Linked DNA regions of Homo sapiens: region 2 is linked to region 1. The links are contacts of gene promoters, found by promoter capture Hi-C in blood cells and fetal thymus (Javierre and others, 2016). All regions are on one chromosome and are shown on one strand. Each heading gives the region's core, a stretch centred on a gene start or on the middle of the fragment in contact. The rest is flanking DNA. Distances are from core to core; before and after follow the strand shown.

What was found. The method cuts DNA at HindIII sites, captures the fragments that hold promoters and counts their contacts. A CHiCAGO score of 5 or more calls a contact.
Region 2: a fragment that was not itself captured here is called in contact with the fragment with the promoter of RASIP1 in region 1 in 12 of 17 cell types (M2 macrophages, megakaryocytes, endothelial precursors and 9 more); the score reaches 7.7 in M2 macrophages.

The regions. Positions count from the first base shown.
Region 1 is chr19:48,739,264-48,742,134 of GRCh38, reverse strand. It overlaps RASIP1 (Ras interacting protein 1), which reads left to right and starts at 1,525. Exons shown (of 12, transcript NM_017805.3): 1 at 1,525-1,614; 2 at 1,849-1,989; 3 at 2,490-2,871. The coding sequence starts at 1,853. IZUMO1 (izumo sperm-oocyte fusion 1) reads left to right here. Exons shown (of 10, transcript NM_182575.3): 8 at 193-346; 9 at 657-834; 10 at 1,107-1,283. The coding sequence ends at 1,227. RefSeq lists a cis regulatory region at 247-1,672, an enhancer at 2,733-2,871 and a silencer at 2,790-2,871. The HindIII fragment of the contact is 9,865 bases long and covers 1-1,902 here.
Region 2 is chr19:48,983,484-48,986,354 of GRCh38, reverse strand. It overlaps GYS1 (glycogen synthase 1), which reads left to right. Exons shown (of 16, transcript NM_002103.5): 4 at 320-505; 5 at 750-894. Among named protein-coding and RNA genes, the nearest start is that of GYS1, 8.4 kb to the left of the region's middle. The HindIII fragment of the contact is 2,950 bases long and covers 1-2,821 here.

The DNA of each region.
Region 1 (2,871 bases), core at 276-2,775:
CCCACGATTCTCATGACCCAGGAGGGTGGTCTATTAGGTGTGGTCTCTACAGACCTCTGGGGACCCCGTGCCCTGACCAGTGACACCCTGGACACTCACCTCCCACACTGAGGCCCTGTGATCTTCTCACCCCTGTACTCCCCCAACCCCTGAATTCCTCAGGCCTCAGTGACCCCTTGAGCTTGGGTCTAGGTTTGGGGGAACAATACGGAGACCTTGGTGTCCAAGGGGAAAGAGGCCACCCTGACCAAGCCCATGGTGGGTCCAGAGGATGCAGGCAGCTACCGCTGCGAGCTGGGCTCTGTGAATTCCAGCCCAGCCACGATCATCAATTTTCACGTCACAGGTCAGTGCTGTGGGGCTGAGAGAAGTGTAGGATTCAGGGCCCAGGAAAGCTGGGGTCCGCGGCGGGGGCGTGGCCTTGGCGATGGGGGCGTGACTTCCTGTTGGGTGTGGTTTCGGGGCACGGGGTGTGGCTTCCTGCCGGGGGCGTGGCCTCTGGCCCCGAGGACAGGGGTTCCCTTGGGTGTGTTCAGGCTTGACACTGTTGAAGGCGTGATTATCTCTGGGATGGCCGGCTACTGGGACGGGCTTGTCTTTGCCAGGGCAGGAACTCCACGCCCTGCCAGGACTGCTCTTTACGCTTTCTCTAACAGTGTTGCCCAAAATGATCAAGGAGGAAAAACCTTCTCCAAATATCGTAACCCCGGGGGAGGCGACCACGGAGTCGTCCATAAGCCTCCAGCCTCTGCAGCCCGAGAAAATGCTGGCAAGCCGCCTTCTGGGGCTGCTGATCTGCGGCTCCCTAGCACTGATAACCGGCCTTACCTTTGCGTAAGCAACCCATTGAAGAAGACAGGCTTGGCTTGGAGTAAGGGGCGGGGCTTCCAGGAACCCAACACAGAAGCTGGTCTGGGGGCTACTGAGGCCTGAGAGCAGGACTTTCCTGGGGATGGAGTGCGGGGGGCTTGAATAGGAGGACTTCGAAGGGCGAGGCTTAGGTAATTGCTAGAATAAGGTCACAAAGGGGGAGGTTGGGAGGGGTGTCCCCCACACAATTAGTACCCAAACCGGTTCCATGATCTGCACCCCACTCCCACCCCTAGGATATTTCGTCGAAGGAAGGTGATCGATTTCATCAAATCCTCACTGTTTGGCCTTGGCAGTGGAGCGGCCGAGCAAACCCAGGTCCCAAAAGAAAAGGCCACAGATTCGAGGCAACAATAAAGATTTATCTTGTTGTCTAAGCATCTGACTCACTCCCCGGGACGGGACTGATTCTAGCCTTTGGTTCCCCGAGAGGAGAGGTCTGGGGATGGGCTCCGGCCTGAGGGAGGAAGGGCAGAAAACCGGGACCCTTGGGTCCTGGAGGGGACCAACTGACTGCGATGTAATTCCAGAATCAAGGAATGGGGCAGGGCCAACCCTACCCAGATCTCCTCCCCCAGGCCTGGTCTCCTCACAGGACGCCCCCTCCCCGCTCTTCCTGCCGGGTTTCCTCTTGCCTTTTCCTGTCCCCCACCCAGTGCTGGGAGCCGTGGCAGAGGCAAGAGCAGTGGAACTGACCCAGGCCAGTGGAGCCAGGGCCTCCGGGTGTGCCGGACCCGAAGCAGGGTAAGAGCCAGGGACCCAGCAGCCCAAACCCCTCCTCCCTGGGCCCCAAGACTCAGTCCCCCAGCCATCTTCCATCCCAGGACCCAGGAATCCAGGGTACCATCCCTCTCCTCCCCCTGGACTCGCAAGTCTGAGCCCCAGCCCCCTCCTCCCTCTGACTCGGAGTCCAGGTTCCCTCCACCCCATCCCCACAAGAATGCCTTAGGAGTTGGGGCCTTACCCGCCTTCCCTTAGGGCCATGCTGTCTGGTGAACGGAAGGAGGGCGGAAGCCCCCGCTTCGGGAAGCTTCATCTCCCCGTGGGCCTGTGGATCAATTCCCCCAGGAAGCAGCTGGCGAAGCTGGGGCGGCGCTGGCCCAGCGCAGCCTCTGTCAAGTGAGTGCCATCTCTGCAGGACTCCTGCCCCTGCACACCTGCTTCCCATCTGTCCCTGTTCACTGCCCAGTCCCTGCAAAGTGTTGGCTCCGGTCCTCATCCTGAATTGGGCAAACGAGCTGGTGGGCAGGGGGAGACGGTGGGGCACAGTGATACCAGGGCGCGGTGGGAGTAAGAGCTAGGCTAGGAGGTGGAGTGAGGCCGGATGGGCACGGGGACGGGGACAGAAGGAGCAGGGGGATTGATTCACCTTCCTTCCTCCCCTCCCTGCTCACCTCTTGGAATTTCCTACTGTGGGACTTGCCTTTATTTATTTATTTTTTCTCTCTCTCTTTGCCTCGCGTCTGTCCCCACCCTCACCCCCGCCCCGTCCATCCACCCTGGGTCCCTGTCCTCCCTCTGGGTCTCTGCCCACTTCCCTCCTAATATGCCCCCACCCCCGTCTTGGCGTGTCGTCCTGGGTCTCTCTCCCGCGACTCTGTTCCCCGGCGGACTCCCAGGTCTTCTTCGTCGGACACGGGGAGCCGCAGCAGCGAGCCGCTACCTCCGCCCCCGCCGCACGTGGAGCTGCGGCGAGTGGGCGCTGTCAAGGCGGCCGGGGGAGCCTCCGGTAGCCGCGCCAAGCGCATCTCCCAGCTCTTCCGGGGCTCGGGGACCGGGACCACGGGGTCCAGCGGCGCAGGAGGCCCTGGGACCCCGGGGGGCGCGCAGCGCTGGGCCAGCGAGAAGAAGCTGCCGGAGCTGGCGGCGGGCGTGGCCCCCGAGCCCCCGCTGGCTACCCGCGCCACGGCGCCTCCGGGGGTCCTCAAGATCTTCGGCGCCGGACTGGCATCGGGCGCCAACTACAAGAGCGTGCTGGCCACGGCGCGCTCCACGGCGCGC
Region 2 (2,871 bases), core at 97-2,596, 240 kb before region 1:
TGTCCAGGACCTGGGAACATGAAAACTTCAGTCTGTCCAATCTAACCCTGCCAGGACTTAGATGGTTGGCCAAAAAATCCTCAGTTCCTGTCAACCCCTGAGGAGGCAGTCACTTGAGCCCAGGAGTTCAAGACCAGCCTGGGCTGCCTCAGGGATTTACAGGTCCCTGTCCGGTTGGGATTGCTGCAGTGGGCCGCTGCCCACTCTGTGCAGTAGTGGTGACAGATTGACCTCTCCCCGAGTCCTTGTCCCTACTGGGGATTGCCGATTCTTTTCCCAACACTCGTGGAGACAGTGGCCCTGTCCCTGTTGCCCACAGTTCCTGGCACAGAGTGAGGAGAAGCCACATGTGGTTGCTCACTTCCATGAGTGGTTGGCAGGCGTTGGACTCTGCCTGTGTCGTGCCCGGCGACTGCCTGTAGCAACCATCTTCACCACCCATGCCACGCTGCTGGGGCGCTACCTGTGTGCCGGTGCCGTGGACTTCTACAACAACCTGGAGAACGTGAGCTGGGACCGTGGCAGATGGGGGACTGCGAGTATGCCAGGAAAACCCAAAGCTCTGGGGGGCCCAAGGGGATGGCACCCCCTCTTCTCCCAGGATCCAGGAGTCCAAGTCCCCAGACCCCTCCTACCTCAGACCCAGGAATCCAGCCCCCAGCACCAATTTCTCTTGGGACCCCAGTGTCTGGACCTCCAGAGTCTTCTCCCCAATCCTTCTAACCGGACTGCTGTCCCCTCCCACCCAGTTCAACGTGGACAAGGAAGCAGGGGAGAGGCAGATCTACCACCGATACTGCATGGAAAGGGCGGCAGCCCACTGCGCTCACGTCTTCACTACTGTGTCCCAGATCACCGCCATCGAGGCACAGCACTTGCTCAAGAGGAAACCAGGTAGGGGCTGGGCTGAAGTCCCCAGACGTGAATGAGGTAGGCAGCTGTCTATGCCAAAGCCAGTTGCTCCTCAGCCCAAGAAGCCCACTGTAAGTTGAAATAGCATAAACCGAAAACGTATTTCGGCTGGGCATGGTGGCTCACACCTGTAATCTCAGCACTTTGAGAGGCCAAGGCAGGAGAACCACTTGAGCCCGGGAATTTGAGACCAGCCTGGGCAACATGGCGAATCCCTGTCTAAAATATTCGCCAGACATGGTGTGTGCCTGTATCCCTAGCTACTCAGGAGGCTGAGGTGGGAGGATTGCTCGAGCCTAGGAGGTCAAGGGTGCAGTGAGCTGTGATCGTGCCATTGCATGATTTGGGTGGCCTGGAGAGACCCTGTCACAGCCTGGGTGACACAGTGAGACCCTGTCTCAAAAAATAAAAAAATGCATTTAATACACCTAACCTACTGAACATCATAGCTTAGGCTAGTATACCTTAAATGTGCCCAGAACACTTTATGTTAGCCTACGACTGGGCAAAATCATCCAATACAAATCTGTTTTATTTTATTTTTATTTATTTATTTATTTTTGAGACGGAGTCTCGCTCTGTCGCCCAGGCTGGAGTGCAGTGGCGCTATCTTGGCTCACTGTAAGCTCCGCCTCCCAGGTTCATGCCATTCTCCTGCCTCAGCCTCCCAAGTAGCTGGGACTATACGCGCCTGCCACCACGCCTGGCTAATTTTAATACAAACCTATTTTATAATAAAGTGTTGAATAGGCTGGGCGCAGTGGCTCACACCTGTAATCCCAACACTTTGGGAGGCCAAGGCGGGCAGATCACGAGGTCAGGAGATCGAGACCAGCCTGGCCAACATGGCGAAACTCCATCTCTACTAAAAATACAAAAATTAGCCGGGCGTGGTGGTGGGTGCCTGTAATCCCAGCTACTCGGGAGGCTGAGGCAGGAGAATCACTTGAACCCAGGAGGCGGAGGTTGCAGTGGGCCGAGATCACACCACTGCACTCCAGCCTGGACAACAGAGCGAGACTCCATCTCAAAAAATTAAAAAAAAAAAGTGTTGAATATCTCATCAAAATCCAAAATTGGACTCATGTGGATGTATGTAACTTTCACACCATCATAAGGTTGAAAAATCATAACTTGGCTGGGCACGGTGGCTTACACCTGTAATCCCAGCACTTTGGAAGGCTGAGGTGGGCAGATCACCTGAGGTCATGTGCTCAAGACCAGCCTGGCCAACATTGTGAGACCCCCTCTCTGCCAAAAATACAAAAATTAGGTGGGCATGGTGGCAGGCGCCTGTAATCCCAGCCACCCAGCTACTCGGGAGGCTGAGGCAGGAGAATCTCTTGAACCCAGGAGGCAGAGGTTGTCGTGAGCCAAGATTGTGCCATTGCACTCCAGCCTGGGCAACAAGAGCGAAACTCTGTCTCGAAAAGAAAAATCATAACTTGGACCATCCTAAGTCCTAAGCTGGGGACCATCAGTTACCATTTTTTTACCTAAAGAATAGAGAACTACAGCTCCCAGAAGGCTGTGGGGGTGGTGACCTGTATTTGAGGCTCTCTGACTATATACTCTGGAGGCTAATGGGAGGTATAATTTCTTTCATATTAATTTCAGATATGATAAAATTCTGTAATTGGCTAATGTAGATTGGTCTTATGAAAGGGAATGGAAGATCAGTGGACTTTGCTTTTGAGAAAGGTTAGGTCAGAACTGGGCATTCTTCCCAGCCCTTAGTATCCGTTCTCAGTGAGTATAAGGTGAGAACTACAACTCCCAGAAGGCCTTTGACTGGTTAGCTCTATATGTTCCAGAACTTTGCCCTAGGCGCTGATGGGGGTTGTAGTTTTTCGTTGATATACTTTAATTTCTATGAGGAGAAGAAATGATTGGGTCCCTGTAAGAAGCTTGGAAGTAGAGGATATATCCTAGGAGAAGCAGGACTTTGGGGATGTTTAA